Regions from separate parts of the Homo sapiens genome. Here regions 2, 3, 4, 5, 6 and 7 are each linked to region 1. Evidence: promoter capture Hi-C in 16 types of primary human blood cells and fetal thymus (Javierre and others, 2016). All regions are on one chromosome and are shown on one strand. The core of a region is centred on a gene start or on the middle of the fragment in contact, and the rest is flanking DNA. Distances in the headings are between cores, read along the strand shown.

Region 1 (3,132 bases), core at 425-2,924:
TATTCATATACAGGTTGAGCAAACCAAATCTGAAAATCTGAAATCCGAACACGTCTGGAACCAAGCATTTTGGATAATGGATACTCAAGCTGTTACAGAATATTATGCAACCATTAAAAAGGAGGAGGGGCCAGGCGCAGTGGCTTACGCCTGTAATCCCAGCACTTTGGGAGGCCGAGGCAGACGGATCACGAGGTCATGAGATTGAGACCATCCTGGCTAACATGGTGAAACCCCGTCTGTACTAAAAATACAAAAAAATCAACAGGGCGTGGTGGCACGCGCCTGAAGTCCCAGCTACTCGGGAGGCTGAGGCAGGAGAATTGCGGGAGGCGGAGGCTGCAGTGAGCCGAGATCATGCCACTGCACTCCAGACTGGAAGACAGAGCGAGACTCCATCTCAAAAGAAAAAAAAAGGAGGCGGAAGATCTGCCATGTACTAAAAATGTATGTCCCTGGGCACAGCGGTGCATGCCTGTAATCCTAAATACTCCAGAGGCTAAGAAGGGAGGAACATCAGCCTGGGAGTTCAAGGCTACAGGCCAGTCTGGGCAACATGGGAGACCCCGTCTTTAAAAAAAACAAAGAAAGAATGTCCCAAGACATACCAACTAAAAGTAGCAAGACCAAGAATAGAGTCTGCTGCTATTTTTAAGAAAGGGTATGTGTGTGTGTGTGTGTGTGTGTGTGTGTATCCGGATGTATACAAATTATGTTCATACATGCACGAAATAGAAACGTAAGTAACTGGGGAACTAGATTTTAGGGATGGGGAGACTCACTTTTTACCCTATACTCTTTGAACTGTTTTAAGTCTTTGGCTATATGCCTGCATGTTTCAGGCAAATTACAAAATCTGACAACACGTCACTCAACTCAAGATACCCAGACCTTACATAAACCAGAAAGTAGAATGGTGGTTGCCAATGTACGAGCGGAGGTGGGGAAGAGGAGTTGTTTCATGGATAGAGTTTCAGCTTGCAGATGAAAAAAGTTCTGGAGATTGACTGCACAACGATATGAATCTACTTAACACTACTGAAGTGTACACTTAAAAAACGGTTAAGATGGCAGATTTTGTACGTATTTTAACACAATTTTTTAAGGTGAAAAAAAAATCCCCCAAAGATACCCATGTTTTAAGATCGGTTTAGTTTCTAATTTGGAAATCATTTTTTAAACACTCCATTATTACTCTAGAATTGAGCGTCAGGAACAAGTGAAAACTCTTTAAACTCTGGAGCTGCTCCTGCGACCTTTCACCTAGAACTCACACGCATTCGGCCAGGCACGCACTCCTGCTAAACTCAGGGAGGGCCGGCACTGGGGGCGGCGTGGTGACTCCCCCTCGGCCCTTTACCCGTGGAAAAGGTTTCTACACTGCTGCCATCCTGTAATACAAAAGTTTGTGTTCCTTTTCACACGTTACCGCAGATTCTCGGTGCACAGTGCCCAGCGCGGACCAGAGCTCAGAGCGTGCCCAGGCAGTATCCTTGACCTCCCACAGCCGGGCCGGCCAGCCCGGGCGATCCGCGGCGGCCCCACCGAGACGCGCCCTTCGCCCGACAGGGTCTCTCCCCGCGCCGCCCCTACCCCCTTACCCGGTGTTGGGTAACATGACTTTCGTAGATCAGAGGAGGTGGCGGCGACAGCGGCGGCGGCGAGCAGAGAGCTAAAGCTGGACCGTCCCTCCGCATTTATCCCCGCCCCTGCCCCGCCCCTGCCCCCCCCGATGCCTGTGCGGGAACTGCGCGCGGAAAAGCCGGGATCGCCGAGTGCGCCTGCGTATGCAGTGGGCCTCCTGCGCCCAGCGTTCCTCTTCGTCGCCTCCCAAGCCTGGTCCCTGATTGCAGGCTCTCCGCGCAGGCGCTTTGAGGCACAGCTCCGCCCCGCCCCCTCACTGGTCGTACGGTGACAATCAGGCTCCTGTCGGCGCCTAGCGTCTGGGCAGCGTCAGCCGCTACGTCCACCTTTTCCCTGTCTCTAGGGGTTTCTCCTCGCGCCGCTGTGTTCCAGCGCCGGCTCCGAGCTGGGAGGGTGACTGAGCCCTGAGCTTGGGCCCTCCGAGAGGTGCGTTAGCTCTGGGTCTTCTTGCCCCTACGCCCGAGCCTGGCGTTCTCTCGGCCCCCTCTTAGGAACGCTAGCCCTGGGCAGAAATTGCCTTTGTGGCTGAAGTCGGCCAGCGTCGCGTTTCCACTCTCCCGCCGAATCTGGACCCAAGCCAGCCTTCCCTTGTGCATCGGTAGATAGCTTGTGTTAAGGCGCCAGCTTCTTGGAACAGAGCTCTCTGCAAAAGTCGCGCTGAAGAATTCATAGTCAAAAGCTGAACTTGCAGAAGTTTCTACTTCTGGAATGAGTGTTGAAATGAGATCAATTCTGACATTCAGTTTCGCTTTTGGGATTATGCCTTGGACTAACTCAGCTACTCTGATGAGCTAAAGACTGTAGTATATTTGAAGGAAGACACGAGGAACTGTTTTGTATTTTGTAGGGATAGAACAGGACCTTGAGGAGATTATTATATGAAGACTAGTTAAAGAAACTAGCCTGGAGATGGCTTATGTACTCTCTCCTTTGTTTTTGTTTTGTTTTTTGAGACGGAGTCTCGCTGTCGCCCACGCTGAAGTGCAGTGGCGCGGATCTCGGCTCATTGTAACCTCCGCCTCCCGGGTTCAAGTGATTCTCCTCCCTCAGCCTCCGGAGTAGCTGGGACTACAGGCATGCATCACCACGCCTGGCTAATTTTTTTGTGTTTTTAGTAGAGACGGGGTTTCGCCATGTTGGGCTGGCTGGTCTCGAGCTCCTGACCTCAAATGATTGGCCCGCCTCGGCCTTCCAAAGTGCTGGGATTACAGGCGTGAGCCTCCGCGCCCGGCCTCTCTCCCCTTTGTTATGGGCCCTAAATGACTCTATTTCCTCCTGCATATCACCTGCCCGACTCCTGTAGGCATTTGAATTGATGATTCATGATACGGTCTTTAGAGGCTCCAGAGGAATTTGCAAATTATTATCATCCACTAAGTGATTGCTGATTACCTGAGATACAGCAGCTCAAAAAGGACAAGGTCTCTGCCTATGGGAGGTATGAGTAGCCAGTGTGTTCTTTAGACTGTTGTTAAGCATTAGGTGTTT
Region 2 (3,132 bases), core at 323-2,822, 900 kb after region 1:
ATCTGGGGTGGCTTTGGAAGGATCCATTTGAAATTATGGGAAGTCAAATTTCCCCAAACCAGTCTTTGGTGCAGCTACTTTCTATAGTCACGGAAACAGTAAGGAAAGGTTGAATGCACCAAACTGTTAATAGGGATTATTTATGGGCATGAGTGGGATGAGGGGGGATGGTGGGTATGCAGTTGGGAGAAGACCTGTATACACCTCTCTATTGTTTGTAAGTAGTTCATTGTGTATTTATTTTGGAGGCAACATCAAATAAAAGAGGAGCATACATGAAAAAAGGGGTTGGTTAACTTAGTGTAGTATGAAGTTACAAACAAAAAAGGGTGATGGTAGTGCAGTGTTTTGAATTAACATGGAACAATGTGTGTGAAGGAATAATTGATCCAGAACTTTATTGTAGAAACCTGTCCCCATCAAAGCCATACATGGGGCTGTATATATATGTCCAGAGAAAAGGTCTTCTGCACACTTAACTGTAACTGTTAGTCATAATTTCTCTGCAGAGTGGGATGGTGGGGCTAGGAGGAAGGACTTTCACTTTTAATTTTATGATACTCCAAATCATTTGCATTTTTTTTTTACAAAAATTATGTATAATTTTTCTTTTTTTTTTCTTTTTGAGACGGAGTCTCGCTCTGTCCCCCAGGCTGGAGTGCAGTGGTGCGATCTCGGCTCACTGCAAGCTCCGCCTCCCGGGTTCAAGCGATTCTCCTACCTCAGCCTCCCGAGTAGTTGGGATTACAGGCGCGCGCCTCCACGCCCAGCTAATTTTTGTATTTTTTAATTAGAGACAGGGTTTCACCATGTTGGCCAGGCTGGTCTCGAACTCCTGACCTCGTGATCCACCCGCCTAAGCCTCCGAAAGAGCTGGGATTACAGGCGTGAGCCACCGCGCCCGGCCCAAGATCATGTATAATTTCTATAACAAAAACAATAAAGGAAATAAAAATGTCTTCAGTGTTGTACCTTGTACTTGGCCTATGTTACAACAGGAATGACATATATTCCATTTTTAAGACATTACTTAGGGCTTTATAGATTTCTGCTTTAAGGAATAAATGCAATTTCAATCTATTTAAGACTTGATTTCTTCTTATATAAAAAAAGTATCTGATCTTGTATCTAATTTGTTATGACAGTACCATCACTTAAAGTACAGCAATTATGCAACCCCTGAATTTGAATTTCATTTTGCAAGTGTACATGACCTCACGGACAAAGCGAAGGCAGAAAGTTAAAATCAGCATATCGAAAATAAATCACTCTAGTTACCGAAAAGAACATAGGGTATCTGAACAAAATCTCAGAGCTCACATAGGCATAGATACTTCCATGTGAACTTTAGGAATCTTGCCTTATCTAACTTTTGCAGGGCTGAGTGGACCCCCTGCTCCCGCTAGCCGTTTTGGGAGCACCAGCCACCTCCACACCAGAACTGGGCTGTCGGGGGCCGCTGCGGCGCAGGGGCTCGTCCGGGACTGAGTCAGCGCCGGGGCCGAGAAGTTCGGCGGGAGGCGCAGGGCGGGGCTTCCTCCCGCCGACTCCGAGCCCGGCTCTACTTTTCTGAGTCCACGTCTCTTCCTTTGGACAGGCGTGTTTCCCCAGGTCGGGCCCAGCCAACGTGACAGCCGCAGACCTCGGAAAAGGGCGCTCCGGCCCCGCCTCGAGGATTTCCCCCGGCCGCTAGGGCAGCCCGGGCCCGCTCGGCCCAGCCCCTCACGGACTGCGGCGCGCGGCTCCCCGGGGCCCGGCCCGCCGAACGCCTCGCTCTACAGCCCTCACCTCGCGGCGCCGAGCGCAGCGTCCGCGGCATGGAGACCGGCTCCGACTCAGGTCAGAGGCCCGCCCCCGGGCCGCGGGGGACTGGCCCTGCGCGCGCGGCGGCGCGGTTAGGCCGGGCCGCCCGCACAGGCCGCCGCGTGTCGAGTCCGCGCGGGGAGCGCACGCGGGGCGGGCGGCGACAGGTGGGCAGGACGAGCCGCGAGCGAGCGAGGGCGGGCGGGCGCGCGAGGGGCCCGGCGGGGGGGCCGCTGGGAGGATGGCTCAGCTCTTTCTAAATATAAAACCGGCGTGAGTTGGGCGAGCGCGGCGCGGAGTCGCAGAGCCGCCGCGCGGGCCTGGCGCACGGGGATTCGGCCGCACAGACGGCGGCGGCGGCAGCGGCAGCGGCTCCGCAGAGGCGCGAGGCTGCGGGAGCGCCCGAGTCGCGAGCTCGCGGGGGCAGCGAAGGGCGACGCTCGCGACGCGGAGGACGCAGGCGGCGGCGGCGGGCGGGCCTCGGGGCACAGCGCGGTCCGCGCCGAGTGAACGGAGGCGGCTCGCGGCCCCTGCCGCACCGCGAGCCGCGAGCCCCCCGGCCGCGCCCTGCCCCCCCAGCCCCTCCCTCGTTCCCTCCCCGGCGCAACATGGCTGCGGCCGCCGCCTCCGCCTCCCAGGATGAGCTGAGTAAGTGCCGCGGCCGAACCTGCGGCCGCGAGCCGGAACGGGCGCCGCGCGGTGCCGGGGGCCGGCGGCCGCATGAGGGCTGGGGCGCCAGGCCCGGTGGGCGGGCGGCGGCCGCGGCGTACGGGGAGCTGGGGAGCCCGGGCCTGGCGGACGGGCGGGGCGCGGACCGTCGCCGCTGGCGTTTGTAGGCCTCAGGTTTGCACCGTCACGTTGCGAAATTGAAACCGGAGCCCCGGGCGGAGCCACCTCTGCCCGCGATCCGCCCTGGCCCGGGGTCGGGGGAGCCCAGCCCCCTGCCCACTGAGCCTCGGCTGGCGGGAGGGCCGGAGCCCCGGGGTGACGGGCAGTGTCCGCCCGTCCCGTCTGACCCCGCCTGGCCCCGGGTCCCCGACGGCTGGTTGAGTTATAGAAATGGAGCTTTCGGGAAGGGGGAGAAGGTGCCTTTTTGTGACACTCTAGTAATCAGCCGAAAGGTCACGAATAGGCGGTGACCCTCAGATGGAGCAGGGAGGGCGGAGAGGGTCGCCGGTCGAACCGCAGGAGAAACCACGGGGTGACAGCGCTTTCAGAAAGGAGAGTTAGTGCCCCCTCGATCGTACGCGGTGCAGCCTTCCCGGGGACGGCGGTCCCTGTCTGGGGAGAGCGGTGGTCACCCTGAATCCCAGGCCGCCCCGCCCGCCG
Region 3 (3,132 bases), core at 432-2,931, 850 kb after region 1:
CCAAAGTGTCAGGATTACAGGCGTGAGCCACTGTGCCCAGCCATAATTTTCTTTATAGTCAAAAACCAGGGAGCTACTTAAGGGTTAAGGAAACAGTTGCTTTAGATTGAATACTCCTCCTAAACAAAATGTTATCAGAAAAGGTTCACAAGGGGACCCAGTCACAAAGCTATTTAACAACTCCTACCCTTTCTTAATGAAAGGGCACACATTTCTCACTAGTTGCTCAACTCAGAAGCCCAATTTAATATTTGACTTTCAAATTTCTCTTCCTCCTTACTTCTCCCATCAATCGCCAAGTTCTGGCGATTTTATTTCCTAAGAACCTCTCCATTCTATCCTTCTGAAACTGCCTAAGTACAGGGTTCTTCACTCCAGTCTCACACTGTGGCCAAAAAATTCCTTCTAACATGCAAAATATGATCTTATCACTCCCCGGCTTACAGTCCCTCACCAGCCACCGAACTGTCTCTCGATAAAGTTCACATGCAGGGACCATGGCATTGTGATCTAGAGACACTGTCTGATGACCTCACCTCTTGAGCTCTAGCTACCCGATTGACACTACAGCCATAAATTAGTATCTCCTCTCTCTCTACATACTCTCCTAGCCTTTGCACCAAGGCTATTCCCTCTCCTCGGAATGTTGCTTTCTTTCTCCTACCAAACTTTTATTCGTCTTTAAAGCCTGACTCCTTTCAACTGTCACTTCTGGTGTGATGCTCTGCTTGATCCCAAAGCACTCCTTTGCACACAGACTGCCCTGTGTTGCATTCATTCATTCATTCTATAAGTGACGGAGCAACTACAATGAGCTGGAACGAGACCAGGGGCCATGAGCTGCGGGGCCAGGCGTGGACAGGCCTGAAAGGGTCCTCACGCTCACAGAGGGTCCAGGAAATGACAATACAGCCGGAGCGGGACTACAATGCGACAAGTGAAGGATGTGACAGCCTCGCATTGCAACTACCATACCAATAACAACCCACTTCCGAGTACAGCGCCCGGCACACAGCAGCATGACGTCATTTATTCCTCTGCCAAATATTAGGCGCCCACCACGTACCTGGCGCCGTGCTGAGCACCTGGGGCTCCGCGATGACTAAGACACTCGGCTCCGTCTACAGGGAGTTTACATAGGAGGCCCGGTGAAAATGTGACGCAGCCAGAGGATCTCAACCAGAGGGAAGAAAAAAGGAGAGATTTCACCCCCCAGCGGTCCTCTGGCAATGTCTGGACACATTTTTGGTTAGCTCGACTAGGACGAGAGGTGGTACTGTTATCTAACGGGCAGAACCAGTGACGCTGTTAAACATCCTGCCACAACGGGAGAGCCTCCCCCTCACCGCCACACCACAAACAAAACAAGGCATTATCCCGCCCAAAATGTCAACAGTGCCCAAGTGGCGCAGGGAGGGATGGAGGGAAGCCAACAGCCCCATCCCGCAGCGGAGTGCGCACCTCCCACAGAAGCAGCAGCAGCGCAGCGCACAGCCCGTTGGTAGGCTGCTCCCGGCCCCCATCCCGCCCCAAGTGCGCCCTCGGAGCCGGCGACCCGGCCACGGCCCCGAAACTCGGGGCCCGGGACGACCAGTACCTGCATCAGCATCCGCAAACAGCACCAACGCCACCGCAAAGAGCTTCCAGAAGCTTGTCCCGCAGCGAGTGCGCGCGCAAGCCTGCGGGAACCACTGCGCCTGCGCAGAGGCGCTGAACCGGACTCCCCGAACGCGCTCGTGCAGCTTTCCGAAAGTCCGCGCTTTCCATAGGCTCCCACCTGCCTGTTGCGCATGGTCACTGGGAAGCGGCTAGTGGGCTCGGCTGCAGAATTATTGCTGCGCCAGAGGCTCAGAGGCCTAGAATCGTATGAGGTTTGCAGATCCAGGAGGCTCCATCTGTTTAGTAACCTCAGACCTTCCCTACCCGCTCCCATCACTTCCATTCCCTGAAATCTAAGGTGGAAAAATCCACCGCAGAAGCATATTACCGATGCATTTAATGCAAGCCATAATTAATGCCACAACTTGAGTTAAACACATATTAATCTTATGACTTCCACACCTGCCCCCATGGTCCAGTCCACCCTCATGGCTCACCTGGATTATTGCAATAGCTTCTTGATTATACCTTACTTCTCTTGGCTATTCTCCACAGCCAGACGGACGTTTTAAAAACGTCAAATTATGACCCTCCTTTGCTTAAAACCCTGCAATGGTTTCCCATTTCACTCAGAGTTAAAACCCAAGTCTTTATAGTGGCCTACAAGGCCTGATGGAATCTAGCCCCTGTAACCTCCCGCACCTCTTCCCCACTTTCCTGCTCCAATCTTGATAGACCCCTTCCTCTTCTTGTAACCTGCCAGGTACTTCCGGCTGACCTGCTCCTTCCCTAAGTGGCCATACGGCCCGCTCTCTCATCCCTTCAGGTCTTCTCAATGAAGCTCTCCCACCATTCCACTTAAATAGGAATCCCACCTTACTCTTGTTTCCTCTTCTAACATGCCCTATAGGTTTGTTAATTTTTTTTTTTACTACTTGTCCGCCTTCTCCAGTAGAATACTAATTTCAGAAGAGTAAGTATTTTTATTTCATTTGTTCTAGGTTGTGTGTTTAGGTCCTGGAACAGGACTTGGCCCATGGCAGGCACTCAATAGATATTTGTTGAGCTTATGAATGAGTATTTGCATGGATTATTGGGGGCATTGCAAAAAGGGCCAAAGAACTCCAGAAAAATTGTTTGGAGGGTTCTAATAACTGGATGATCCCTGAAGGGGTGGAGTTAGGAGAGAAAGACTAGATTCATTCTAGACTGAAGGAGCAAGGTGATTCAAGGCCCTGAGACTTCAAAAGGGCAGAGCAAGCTCAACTAAATGAACCACTCCTCTCAAAAGGAGTGGGCTTATCACAGGCAGCAAGTCAAGCTGAAGAGACAGGGCTGAGAATGGCCGGGCGCGGTGGCTCATGCTTGTAATCCCAGCACTTTGGGAGGCTGAGGCGGGTGGATCACCTGAGGTCGGGAGTTTGAGACCAGCCTGACCCACGCGGAGAAACCCTGTCTCTACTAAAAATACAAAAAATTAGCCAGGTGTGGTGGCACATGCCTATAATCCCAGCTACTCGGGAGGCTGAGGCA
Region 4 (3,132 bases), core at 401-2,900, 750 kb after region 1:
CTCACTAACGCTAGTGAGAATTTAATGAACTAGGTAAATTAAATTTTACCTAGTTCAATTCACCTAGTTTACCTAGTTCAGGGCCCGCCCCTCCACCACTCATTTTATGACTCCAAATTATCCAAACTGCTCTGGAAGGCATCAATAAAGTTGTTAGCTCCTTGACTATTTTCAGCTCTGGAAAAACAATCTGGAGGAACAATCCAAGGTAAAATTATATCCACTCAAAGTACAATCATTAAAAGCAGGCTACCTGGCAACATAGAAAATTTTGCCTCGGGAAAAAAAAAAAAAGGCTAGAAAAGAAATACTTTACAACTACAATCGCTGACGCATTAGTATGATGGGGCCCTTCAAGCAGTAATACCACCATCAAGTACGATTTATACTTCGTGATGTCCTAGATGGTTTGATTTTTTGCAGTAGTAGAAGAAAACAGCATCGGGCTAAATCTCTCATCCCCACAAGACTCAATAAAACCTGTCAAATGAAATACAAATACATATTCACAAAATATTTCCTACTAGAAATTCTCAGAGTTTTGTACCCAAGTCATTAAGCACCTATTTATGGATCCTATGGAAAGGGGGGCGGTTCGCACACTTATCATTTAATCCCCATAATAACTCTGAGAGGAGGTATCATGGCCTTAATTTTGCATATGAAGAAACAGCTATTTCAACATAATAAGTCACTATCCAAGGTCATACAGGGGTGTCACAGCAAAGACTCACATCCAGCCTTTTGACTGGTGTTCATTGTTCTTCTCAGTGTTTTCTTAGTTCCTTAAACCCAAACTAAGCGTCACCATTAACACTATTTCCAGAAACCAATTTTCTGTCATATCAAACTGATGCGATCACAGTTGTCACTTGATATTCGAGACTTTCCCTGTTGTGGGCTACCCCAGATCCTACTAATAATGATCACCCTGCTTTTCGAATGTGAAATGCACGTTATTAAAATATTTTCACGAAATCGTAAGATGGCCAAAGTTTTGCATAACAATGTCACAAAAAGGAAGAGGGCAAGGAGGCTAGCTGTGCCCCCCAAGGCCCCGTGGGGCCGACTCGGCTCTTTCACAGGGCCACGTGGGAAACGTGAGTATCTTAAAGGTCGCGGTGGTGGCTGTGCTCAGTTTCGGGGTCACAGAGGCCCACGCTCCGCGGACCGGGGTCGGAAGGCGCCGTGGGCTTCCCGCGGCCAGTCTTCGAAGCCCCTCCACGCCCGCAGGCCTCACCTTGAGTGTCTCGTAGGCGGTTGCCACCAGCAGGAAAGCCTCCTCGGCGCTCTGCGGCGTCCGCCCGGGGCCCTCGTCTCCGGGCTGGGGCCGGTAGCGGTCAGGGTGGTAGCGCCGGGCCAGCTGGCGGTAGGCCCGCGCGATCTCCGCCTTGCCCGCCGAGCGGCTCACGCCCAGCACCTCGTAGCAGTCCCGCGTGCCGCAGTAGAGCCCCTCCACCAGGGCCCCCGCGGGCCGCACCAGCAGCAGCGCCGGCAGCAGGGGCGCCAGCAGCATCCACCAGCGCCGGCCGGCAGCCCCGGCTCCCCAGCCGGGAGAGAGCAGCGGCGCCCCCATCCCCAGCCTCGCTGGCGGCTCTGCCACCCCAGCGATTCTGCAGCACTCAGCCGCGCGCCCGGCTAGTCCCGTCTGGCCCCAGCTACACGTCAGCAGCCGACGCCTCCGCGCAGGCGCACAGGGCGCGGCTACAGCAACTACTTCCTTCGCAACCCGTTGGTAGGGAGAAGGACGCCTCAGCCACTAGGCTGCTTCCGGTGTGTCACTGAACACCTTCCCCGTACCAGCAGCTGGAGGATTTGTTTGGTAGCACCTGGGGGATGGCTCTGTCCCGGGCGCACTTAGGCGGGCTGTGCGGAGCGCTTTACCTTCCACAGTGTCCGGCACACGCATCCTTTTCGACATCATCACTTGACCTGCTGCAATAGGTAACCTACCTGGCTCTCTCGCATCCCGTTATCAGCGTCAAGAAGATTTGCACGTAGGCCTTTAAAGCCAGCCACCAGCCCCGGGCGCCTTCCTCTCACTAACCCCATGCTGCCTTTCCAAACGGAAGATGAACTTAGCAATTCTAGGCGCTGCCTGTGTACTAGGTAGGGACCCTGAAAGTTCATAGCCATCTAGTTCAGTTTTTCTCAGCCTCCACGCTATTGACATTTTAGACCAGATAATTCTTTGCCTTTGAGGGGCTGCCCTTTGCATTGTAAGATGTTTAGCAGCATATCTGGCCTCTCCACACTAAATGCCAGTAGTGCCACCACCCCCAGTCATGACAATAAAAAATCTCTGTACGCGGGTCTGTGCGTCCACCTTGGGCTGCGCGTTCCCGGGACAACCTGCTGGAAGGATCAAGCGATCCTTCCAAAATGCTAGGATTACAGGCGTGAGCCACCGTGCCCGGCCTACATTTGAATTTCAGATAATAATTTTTTAGTATAAGTATGTCCAAAATATTGCATGGGACTATATGGCAACATGAAAAACTTTGCCTCAAAAAATCTGTTTCTATCATTCATCTGGTAAATGTTTATTGAGTCTCTACTCTGAGCCGGGCACTGTTACTTAGGCACTGGGGATACAGTGGTGAGCAAAGTAAACAAGAAGCTCAACTTCAGAGAGCATATATTCTGATGGAGGATGACAGTCAGTAACAAATAAATAAACGTTCAGATATAATCAACTCTTTTAATAAAGTGAAATCAAATACTGATACATAGCATTATATACTTATAATACATAATGAATATACATTATAATTTTGTATTTCTCATTGAATAAATATATATCTCTCATTACATATATCTCCCTCATTACATATATAATATATATAATCTCATTACACATATATGTCTCTGTCATTACATATATAACATATATGTGTCTATTTTTCACCTCAGCCCACTAAATATTGCATGGGACTATATAGCAACATATACAGTTATATATGTAATGAGAGAGATACATGTATATGTAATGAGATACAAAAGTTATATATATAATAACAATTTTGTGTATCATATATGCTTATTTACATTTGTATCTCATATATGTTTATATATGCTTATATATGGCTTATATATATGCTTATATATATATATAATGAGAAAGATAAAATG
Region 5 (3,132 bases), core at 323-2,822, 710 kb after region 1:
GCAAGATGTCTCGGCGATGAGGGGGGAAACACATTGTGAAAATGACCCCAATACAAAGCATTCGAACCCAAGAAGTTTCTAATATGCCACCAGAGAGGTGTTTTCATTTATCAATTTTTAAAGCTCTTTTAACCCCACTCACACTTTTTCCCAATAGCTATATTTCTTCCTCCATTAAAACAGAGATATATTCTGAAAACCATTGGGAAAGAAATCACAGCGGGTGGTAGGCACACATCTCCCACTCTGGGGAGTCCTTATTCCCAAGAGTAGCAAGTCAGTTGATAGCACTAAGTAGCAAATCCCAACCCTTGGATGCTATAAGGACAGAGAGGGTGGGCTTAAGGTCAAGAAATTACTGGCCAGGTGTGGTGGCTCACACCTGTAATCCCAGCACTTTAGGAGGCCGAGGCGGGTGGATCACCTGAGGTCAGGAGTTCGAGACCAGCCTGACCAATATGGTGAAACCCCATCTCTATTAAAAATACAAACATTAGCCGGGCGTGGTGGCAGGCACCTGTAGTCCCAGCTACTCGGGAGGCTGAGACAAGAGAATTGCTTGAACCTGGGAGATGGAGGTTGCAGTGAGCCAAGATCATGCCACTGTACTCCAGCCTGGGTGACAGAGCGAGACTGTCTCAAAAAAAAGAAAGAAAGAAAGGAAGAAATTACTACCAGCCAACTCAAAGAGCTCAAGTACAGAAGGATGTTGGCATCTCATGACTTAGTGCCAGAGAGACTTCAGACTGTCCTGATTAGATGTATTCTACAGGCAAGGTAAATATACACTAGAATCACACTTCAGGGAAAGTTGTGCATTTTGCTGGCTCTTGTTTTAATTTCCCCAAGAATAGGAGACATTCAAAACTCAGTTGCTCAAGTCCTTTGGGAAGCCCTGTGATAATGCTATGGGCCCAAGACATCATGGTGTATCATTACTCACGAGTCTTCAGAGTAAAGCACAGGATCTAGGCTCCCGGAAGGGGTTACTTCCAGCTGGAACACCCACCAGCAGGGCATCCTTGCAGGCATTCTGCATACAGTACTGTTGAAGCTCTGCAGCTGCCTGAGAGACCTGAAACAAAGGGACAGCAACATGGCACCCTGCTCACAGCCAAGCCACCCGGCAGTCAAGGATATTCTGAAAACGATCATCCAACTTGGTAAATATCAACTTTTTGTGACCTCCAAAAGTCTCTTTCTGCTGAAAGTTCTAATACTTGAACTACAAAGAGAAAAGGTTACAATTTCCATGAACGTCAATTTAGATATTTTTTGGTTTAGTTGCTTATTCAACGAAGACAAGAAAAAGCTGTATCTTTGATCCATTTAGAAATCTAGTTTTGAGACTGAACGGGTAAAGAAATAGCTCATTCTAGCATTCCCTTTACAAATTTTTACTTATATAAAACATGCATCAATATATCCAAGTTTGCCAAATGAGCAAATTGTCTTAATGTTTACAAGTCTGAAGCCTTATTCAGTCTGCTCCAAACAAGTGATAAAGTTCTTCCGCCTTGCTTTTGAGGCGGTATAGCTTATTATTTGGGAGTATAGCCTCTGGAACCAGACTGCGTGGACTCAAATTCAGCTCTGCCACTACCTATATAACCTTGGGCAAGTTACTCAACGTCTCAGTAGCTGCTTCCTCATCTGAGAAATAATTAGAAATAGTAACTCACCTCTCTGGGTTGCTGTAACAATTAAGTGAGTTCACACATATAAAGCTATTAGAATAGCGCTAACATATAGCAATACATTTGTGGTAGACTGCAAACGTGATCACAATAGTTTGCAGCTCCTTCCACGAAGAGGTAGAGTCTATTGACGCACCCCTTGAATCTGGGCTGACTGTGGCTGGGCGCAGTGGCTCACACCTGTAATCCCAGCACTTTGGGAGCCCAAGCGGGGGCAGATCACGAGGTCAGGAGTTCGAGACCAGCCTGACCAACATGGTGAAACCCTGTCTCTACTAAAAAAAAAAAAAAAAAAAAAATTAACCGGGTGTGGTGGCGTGCACCTGTAATCCCAGCTACTCAGGAGGTTGAGGCAGGAGAATCGCTTGAACCCAGGAGGCGGAGGTTTCAGTGAGCCGAGATCGCACCATTGCACTCCAAGCTGGGTGACAAGAGCAAAACTCCGTCTCAAAAAAACAAAAAAAGAAAAGAATCTGGGCTGACTTTGACCAGTAGAATGTGGTAGAAATAAAGGGCAAGTTCCAAGCTAGTCCTCAAGAGTCTCTGCACCTATCTCTCTTGGTGCAGGTGGAACTGTAAGACAACCATCTGAAGGAGCCCAAGATAGCCTCCTGGAGGTCTTGTAGAGGAGAACTGGTAAGCTACAACCAGCACCTGCCTATCAACCTGCAGACCTGTGAGTGAGGCCATTCTCAATCACCCAGACACCAGCCAACACCAGTTAACACTCTATCTGATTGCAGATGCATGGGAGAGCCCAGAAGATCAGCAGAACTGTACACCTGAACCTAGCTCAAATTGTCCATCTAAGAACTGTGAGTATAAATCTTTTAAGCCACTAAATTTTGGGGTGGTTTGTCAGGCAGCAAAAACTAACTGATACAATATCATTATCCCTTTTCTTATCTTCCATTTGATGCATATTTCTACTTGGAGGTTTTCCTCATTGTACTTTTTTTTTTTGCATTAAAAGGCATTTTGAATACAATTCACCCATATTGTACAAAAATGGTTCCAATTGCTGTTCAGGTATTACTACTAGTTTGTGTTAATTTTCCAAGCCTCCAAATAACTGGAAAATTAACTGTTTATGTTACAATTGCTACCAAGTTTCTGGACAGCTCCAGGAATTTTGGTTGCATTAATGTAATGACAGTTTACTCCATATTATATGAATATAAAACCATAATATAATATTACCAGGCTAATGCTAAAGTTTGCTTTTGCTCTCAATAGAAGCTCTGACATTTTCATGTGAATTATAATTGGAATTAATGGTTATATATACCAGTTATTAATTCAAAAGAAATCGAGAATCAATTATGCTCAGGCTTACTATCTTTGCATTGGGGTGGCAGGTAAACTCCACACATGGTAGGTGGAAGGACACTGTCTCCAGGACTCCTGGAGAAATGAGACTAACTGAACTCTAGGC
Region 6 (3,132 bases), core at 168-2,667, 640 kb after region 1:
AGGCCCAAGAATCACTTGAAAACCTGGGAGGCGGAGGTTGCAGTGAGCCGAGATGGCGCCATTGCGCTCCAGCCTACGTGAAGGAGCAAGTCTCTGTCTCAAACAAACGAACAAACAAACAAAACAAAAAAAATGGCCGGGCACCGTGGCTCACACTTGTAATCCCAGCACTTTGGGAGGCCGACCCGGGCGGATCATTTGAGGCCAGGAGTTCGAGACCAGTCTGGCCAACATGTTGAAACCCCCTCTCTACTAAAAATACAAAAATTAGCTGAGCATGGTGGTGCACGCCTGTAGTCCCAGCTACTCTGGAGGCTGAGGCAGGAGAATCGCTCGAACCAGGGAGGTGGAAGTTGCAAGAGCTGAGATCACCACTGCACTCCAGCCTGAGCAACATGGTGAGACTCCATCTCAAAAATAAATAAATAACATTTTAGCAAAACTTGTTTATAGTTTAACAAAATAATTTTGAGGTTATACATTTCACATGTATATTCAAAATTTATCTGAGTAAGTTAAACTCTTGTCTGTGTCTGAACTATTCCATCACGGAAATGGAACTTTGGATAAGGTATTGTTTTAAAAAATTTTTAAATGAATCACTGAGTTGCATTTGGAGGCCAAAAACAAAGTGAAAACAGGAATCCTGGGAAGCAAGTAAGCACCAAAGCTGGCTTTCACTCCAAGCTTTCTATTAAACCTTGGAGACTTTGAACTTCTGTTTTGAGGTCGACATGTAGTGTAGAGTCAAGAAATATCCTACGTGGAGGGTCTGATAGGGGACCCCTACATAAAACTGGGAATTCAACAAACTACCATCAAAATAAGAGCATACAAAAGTAAACCACCATATATAGAAGGGAACTCCGAATAAATTTGCATATTTCTACCTTGGAGCTGGAAGAGAGGAAAAGAAAAAAAATTTCTCTTAAGTACTGCTAACCAGAAGGCAGCCATCATGCCTGGTTGCAGTCTGAATTCAAACCACCTATATACTTTTAAAAATAGTGGTGATTTAATTTAAAGTGGTCCCAGGTTGACAGTGCCTCCCAAACACATAGAGACAAAAGTAAATCCTTTCTAGAGGAAAATAAATTTTTTTTCTGGAAGAATGTACTTCAACTCGTGCTTCAAAGACCTTCCACAAAGTTGAAAGAAACACATGCTAATAGACAACAATCACAAAATATATTGGCATGATCAGTGAGATACAGCAGAAACATTAGACATCAAAATCAGATCATATATTGAAATTATCAGTTACATAGTATAATATACTTTTAAAGCAAAAAAAGGGGGGAACAAGACGTCTTGTATTATTTCTTGCAACTGCATGTGAATCTACAATTATTTCTACCTGAAAAAAAGGAATGGACTGTTGATATACACAACACAGATGATCTCAAAATAATTATGCAGAATGACAGAAACCACAAAAAATTCATATGGTATAATTCCATTTATATAAAATTCTAGAAAATGTAGTTTATAGTGTCAGGAAGCAGAACAGTGGGACAGGGGTTGGGGGATGAGGAAGATTAGAAGGGAGGTATAAAGAGGCAGGAGGGATACAAAACTTCGGAGGGAATGGATATGTTCATTACCTTGATTGTGGTAATGGATTCATGAATGTATAAATATGTCAAAACTTATGAGACTTTTCACTCTAAATATGTGTAGTTTATTGCATGTCAGTTATACTTTAATAAAACTATTAAAAATTATACCTATTTTATAGAATTATTTAGGGATTAATTAAGAATAATGCATGTAAAGAAAGCACTTAGCATAGTGCCAGATGTTTTTTAGTAACTTGTAATTACTATTATTAATATTAGTATTTTTAAGTTTTAATTTCTTCTTAATATTACTGTCATTATAAAAGCACCATTCCAAAATTAGAGTTTCAAAATTTATAATCCTAATTTCAGGTTGATGTTTATAATGCAGATAATAATATTAGGTAGTTGTGCTACTTCAGTTCCTCCATATGTTATGATTTCTCCCGTTTAGGCTAGAAAGTAATGAGGCAGTAAGCGCTGTACCACAATATCTAAGATGATATAGTCATCATAAAATCTGAACAAATATTTCTTCTTGTTTAGGCTTATTATAATGAGTTAGAATTTCTAATTTAATAAAGCTTGTATTACTTCAAAATGTTAAACATTAATTTAATAATTGAAAATGGTCAAACAAAATAAGATTTCCTTCTACTAAATATCAGAATAATTTTAACTTTTTGATATTTTCAAAGAGTGAAATAAATCCTTTATGTGACTTCTACTGCTACAATAGCTTAAACTTTTACAAATATTAGCATCTTGAGACAAAAATACCAGCTATAACTTCAAGTTTCACTTATTTTCTAATGCATAAAAATGCATTTCATAAAGAAATTCCAGTGTGGTTCTGTTTATTGTGTTTTGTTTCTTTTGCTTTGTAGACTGTTTCTAACTATTTGTTTTTTATTTTTTTTTAAGTGCCAAGAATTCAAGAGCCCCACAGCCAATATTCAGTTACAGATTTGAAAAAGATATTTTCTGTTAAAGAAGAAAGCCTTGTGATTAATCTGGAAAAGGCAGAGTGGTGGAAACAAGCAGGACTAAATCTGAAAATGATGGAAACATTGGAACATCTGAATACATATTTATGTCATGATAATTTGTCTTCTAATGACACTAAAATTGAGATATTTTTGCCTACGAAAGTGCTTCAATTAGAATGTAAGTACATCACAGTAAATATTAGTTATGTAAACATTTTCAGAATGTGAAAATGTTAGATTCTGGATTTCCTCTAGGTAATTGGGAAAATCACTAGGTTCTAGCATTCCATATAGGCCCTGGCTCTGCCAGAATTTATGACTTTGGATTTCTCTAGGTCCCATTTTCTTGAAAAAATGATGAAGTTTGACTAGCTAACCCTAAAATCTTGTTATGTCCTAAAATTCTATAGTCTCAGTTTTTAAATTTCTAGCCATTTTCATTTAAAGTGACTTTGTTTCCTTTTATAAATGATTAAATTGCTAGCAGTTTCCGTTCACATTGGCCTAGACGCAAACCAGCATTTTGCAGTAACTGTTTTTTGACCTAACAGCTGAACATTAGCATTCAATAATATCACTCTTTA
Region 7 (3,132 bases), core at 261-2,760, 620 kb after region 1:
TTTTGGTAAAGGATCCTCTTTTAGATTTCAAAGGACAGATCTTCACAGAAGCTAATTTTTCCAGGTACTTACTTAATTGACCAATGCTGTAAATATTTTTAAGAGGTGAAAATGTTTTAGTATGATCACAAGCTTAGATGTTATCAACAATGTTTTTTTTTGTTTTGTTTTGAGATGAGTCTTGCTCTGTCGCCCAGGCTGGAGTACAATGGCGCAATCTCGGCTCACTGCAACCTCCGCCTCCTGGGCACATGCGATTCTCCTGCCTCAGCCTTGCTGAGACTACAGGCGTGCGCCACTGTGCCCAGCTAATTTTTGTATTTTTAGTAGAGACATGGTTTCACCATGTTGGCCAGGCTGGTCTTGAACTCCTGACCTCAGGTGATCCACCCGCCTCGGCCTCCCAAAGTGCTGGGATTACAGGCGTGAGCCACTGCACCCGGCCAATAACTTTTATCATCGTTTTACCTCAACTTTAATTTTAATGATTATGTGTTTTGGTTGGCTACATTTAGTATGTAACTTGCTTTTAGTAAACACTAATTAATGTATTTTTTTTTAAGGGAATGTTTCTCTCTTCAAGAAACTTTGGAAGCTTTTGTGAAAGAAGATTTTTGTATGGATAAAGTGAACTTTTGTCAAGAGAAACTAGAAGATACAATATGTTTAAATGAGGTTGTAATACTGGCTTTCAATAATATTTTAGTAAAAGTAGTGAGGCACATTTTTGTAAAATTTGTGTAATATACATTGTCTACAATTGTCAAATTAAAAAGATTTTATAATGGAATGAACATGTATCAATTAAGAAGTCAAATTTACTTCTAAATAGTGGTTCTCAGCCTTGGCTGTATGTTGGAATTACCTGAATAGTTAAAAAAAAATGTTGAAGCCTGAGATATATTCTGATAAATTGGTCTGGTGTGCAGGCCAGTCATAGGGAACTTTAAAATCTCTTCCAATAATTGTAATCAATATACCTGGTATAGGAAATTAAGTAGTCATGTCTAGTTTAAAAATTGACACCTGAACTAGAAATATTGATTTGTGAGTTATACACAAAAAATAGTACTTGAGCTAATGAGAATATTGCAAGAGTAAGAATATAGAGGGTCCAAGACTGAATTTTAGTTTTCTGCCAGTGTTTAACAAGGATGATAGCATCTTTTGCATATTAAAGGCCAAACTTCTCAAAGATGCATTTAGTTTCAATAGCACACAAAATGGTCATAATATCAGTATGTAAAGAATTCTAGCTATTGCGATTGCAATAACTTTTTGCAGCTGGACAAGCTCAGAAATCTAGGCCCATATTGATTAGATGCGTTCACAAAGCTACTTTAAAAAAACATTTTTTGGCCGGGCGCGGTGGCTCACGCCTGTGATCCCAGCACTTTGGGAGGCCGAGGTGGGCAGATCACGAGGTCAGGAGATCGAGACCATCCTGGCTAACATGGTGAAACTCTGTCTCTACTAAAAATACAAAAAATTAGCCAGGCATAGTGGTGGGCGCCTGTAGTCCCAGCTACTCGGGAGGCTGAGGCAGGAGAATGGCGTGAACCCAGGAGGCGGAGCTTGCAGTGAGATCGCACCACTGCACTCCAGCCTGGGTGACAGAGCGAGACTCCATCTCAAAAACAAAACACAAAAAACATTTTTTTAGGACAACTTAAAATGTTTTATATTTGGAGATTTTAATGGACTTAAAGCACTTAAGGGGTTTCCTTACAATAAAAATTTTAACATGATGGTAAAAAGGTTAATTCACCAATAGGCCCCATTCCTCCAGTACCTCTTGCTTCCCAGGTTAACCCTGAGAGTTGTGGACTTAGTCTCTCTTGTTGAGGAGTCAAGTTCTGTTGGAATGAAAGAGAAACATACTCCATGGATCACAGTAAAGATCTATTCCATTCCATGATCTCATTTCACTTCTCACCATTTATTATCTCTCATCTACTGCAGTGACTGTTTTTAATTTAAAATGTTTACAATTTGCTATTAGCCAAAAAGAAGCTATTTCTGCATCTAGGGATATTGTACACCACTAATGTAATGAGTGACCATAAAATACAATACTCAGAGAGAACATTGCTTATAATAGAACGTATTTTTAGCTGCTACATTTCTGTTTTTTTAAAGTATATATAGCTTTAACAATTTTGAATGTGGATTTAGTTTAAAATTTGGCACATCATTTAAGCAAATTTTGTCCACTTATGATTTCGAAAATATTTATTTGGAAAGCCTCTCTAAAAACTTTTTTAAACTATGTTTTTTCAGCCGTCAAGTTTTCTTATTGAGTATGAATTCTTAATACCTCCAAGCCTCAAACCAGAAATTGATATTCCATCACTCTCAGAACTGAAGGAGTTATTAAACCCAGTGCCAGAAATAATAAACTATGTAGATGAAAAGGAAAAGCTTTTTGAAAGAGGTGAGAATTAATTGTAAAATGTATTACTTGTAAAAACCACTTAAGAATGTTTGTTACATAGGTTCTTGTTTATTAAAATTTTTCTGAACCTCCAGATTTTGCAAAAATGTTCTGCAAGTTACATGTTGAAATCTCAGGATTATTTTTGATGAGATTATTTTCTCATTGTCATTTTCTTGTTGTTGTTGTTGTTGTTGTTGTCGAGACAAAATTTCGCTCTTGTTGCCCAGGCTGGAGTGCAATGGCAAGATCTCAGCTCACCACAACCTCCGCCTCCCAGGTTCAAGCGATTCTCCCACCTCAGCCTCCCGAGTAGCTGGGATTACAGGCATGCACCACCACACCTGGCTAATTTTGTATTTTTAGTAGAGATGGGGTTTCTCCATGTTGATCAGGCTGGTCTTGAACTCCTGACCTCAGGTGATCTGCCCGCCTCGGCCTCCCAAAGTGCTAAGATTGTAGGCATGAGCCACTGCACCCAGCCGTCATTCTCTTTGTATGACTTTCAGGTTTAAAACGTCTCTGAAATTTAACCATTTCAAGATAATTATACAAATAAAACTAAAACACCTATGACTATACAAATTTTTGAAGAGTTGTTTTCTTATAAACAATAAAAACATTATCAACTTCTATACTGACATTAGTTAACTATGGAGAGGCTCACCATAAAGAGCTCAGAGTATGGATTCGTGGAG

The links. Contacts are between HindIII fragments. The CHiCAGO score rates a contact against its expected background, and 5 or more counts as called.
Region 2: a contact is called between the fragment with the promoter of ECPAS here and the fragment with the promoter of HSDL2 in region 1, in 3 of 17 cell types (total CD8 T cells, non-activated CD4 T cells and activated CD4 T cells). The highest score is 6.4, in total CD8 T cells.
Region 3: a contact is called between the fragment with the promoter of ZNF483 here and the fragment with the promoter of HSDL2 in region 1, in 4 of 17 cell types (naive CD4 T cells, total CD8 T cells, total CD4 T cells and 1 more). The highest score is 6.8, in naive CD4 T cells.
Region 4: the fragment with the promoter of DNAJC25 here is called in contact with the fragment with the promoter of HSDL2 in region 1 in 1 of 17 cell types (fetal thymus); the score reaches 8.9 in fetal thymus.
Region 5: a contact is called between a fragment that was not itself captured here and the fragment with the promoter of HSDL2 in region 1, in 3 of 17 cell types (activated CD4 T cells, non-activated CD4 T cells and fetal thymus). The highest score is 6.0, in activated CD4 T cells.
Region 6: a contact is called between a fragment that was not itself captured here and the fragment with the promoter of HSDL2 in region 1, in 7 of 17 cell types (endothelial precursors, total B cells, M1 macrophages and 4 more). The highest score is 7.6, in endothelial precursors.
Region 7: a contact is called between a fragment that was not itself captured here and the fragment with the promoter of HSDL2 in region 1, in 15 of 17 cell types (megakaryocytes, total B cells, fetal thymus and 12 more). The highest score is 12.8, in megakaryocytes.

What each region holds. Positions count from the first base shown.
Region 1 is chr9:112,378,650-112,381,781 of GRCh38, reverse strand. It overlaps HSDL2 (hydroxysteroid dehydrogenase like 2), which reads right to left and starts at 1,674. Exons shown (of 11, transcript NM_032303.5): 1 at 1,602-1,674. The coding sequence starts at 1,618. It also overlaps a transcript of PTBP3 not described here. RefSeq lists a silencer at 1,471-1,720 and enhancers at 1,941-2,060, 1,492-2,091, 2,091-2,340, 2,441-2,490. The HindIII fragment of the contact is 10,070 bases long and covers 1-3,132 here.
Region 2 is chr9:111,482,823-111,485,954 of GRCh38, reverse strand. ECPAS (Ecm29 proteasome adaptor and scaffold) reads left to right here and starts at 1,572. Exons shown (of 50, transcript NM_001364929.1): 1 at 1,572-1,839. RefSeq lists silencers at 1,473-2,012, 2,133-2,252, 2,523-2,942. The HindIII fragment of the contact is 4,796 bases long and covers 1-3,132 here.
Region 3 is chr9:111,523,728-111,526,859 of GRCh38, reverse strand. It overlaps ZNF483 (zinc finger protein 483), which reads right to left and starts at 1,681. Exons shown (of 6, transcript NM_133464.5): 1 at 1,598-1,681. RefSeq lists enhancers at 518-1,017, 1,129-1,328 and a silencer at 1,429-1,778. The HindIII fragment of the contact is 1,786 bases long and covers 1,653-3,132 here.
Region 4 is chr9:111,629,852-111,632,983 of GRCh38, reverse strand. It overlaps DNAJC25 (DnaJ heat shock protein family (Hsp40) member C25), which reads right to left and starts at 1,650. Exons shown (of 4, transcript NM_001015882.3): 1 at 1,241-1,650. The coding sequence starts at 1,576. It overlaps DNAJC25-GNG10 (DNAJC25-GNG10 readthrough), which reads right to left and starts at 1,650. Exons shown (of 3, transcript NM_004125.4): 1 at 1,241-1,650. The coding sequence starts at 1,576. LOC107987116 (a long non-coding RNA gene) reads left to right here and starts at 1,781. Exons shown (of 2, transcript XR_001746897.2): 1 at 1,781-1,944. RefSeq lists enhancers at 917-966, 1,697-1,786 and a silencer at 1,317-1,606. The HindIII fragment of the contact is 9,325 bases long and covers 1-3,132 here.
Region 5 is chr9:111,664,758-111,667,889 of GRCh38, reverse strand. It overlaps DNAJC25-GNG10 (DNAJC25-GNG10 readthrough), which reads right to left. Exons shown (of 3, transcript NM_004125.4): 2 at 944-1,075. The coding sequence ends at 950. It overlaps GNG10 (G protein subunit gamma 10), which reads right to left. Exons shown (of 3, transcript NM_001017998.4): 2 at 944-1,075. The coding sequence ends at 950. Among named protein-coding and RNA genes, the nearest start is that of GNG10, 4.7 kb to the right of the region's middle. The HindIII fragment of the contact is 4,198 bases long and covers 1-3,132 here.
Region 6 is chr9:111,737,874-111,741,005 of GRCh38, reverse strand. It overlaps SHOC1 (shortage in chiasmata 1), which reads left to right. Exons shown (of 28, transcript NM_001378211.1): 12 at 2,484-2,726. Among named protein-coding and RNA genes, the nearest start is that of SHOC1, 55 kb to the left of the region's middle. The HindIII fragment of the contact is 1,456 bases long and covers 690-2,145 here.
Region 7 is chr9:111,755,627-111,758,758 of GRCh38, reverse strand. It overlaps SHOC1 (shortage in chiasmata 1), which reads left to right. Exons shown (of 28, transcript NM_001378211.1): 6 at 1-64; 7 at 564-675; 8 at 2,281-2,434. Among named protein-coding and RNA genes, the nearest start is that of SHOC1, 38 kb to the left of the region's middle. The HindIII fragment of the contact is 1,826 bases long and covers 598-2,423 here.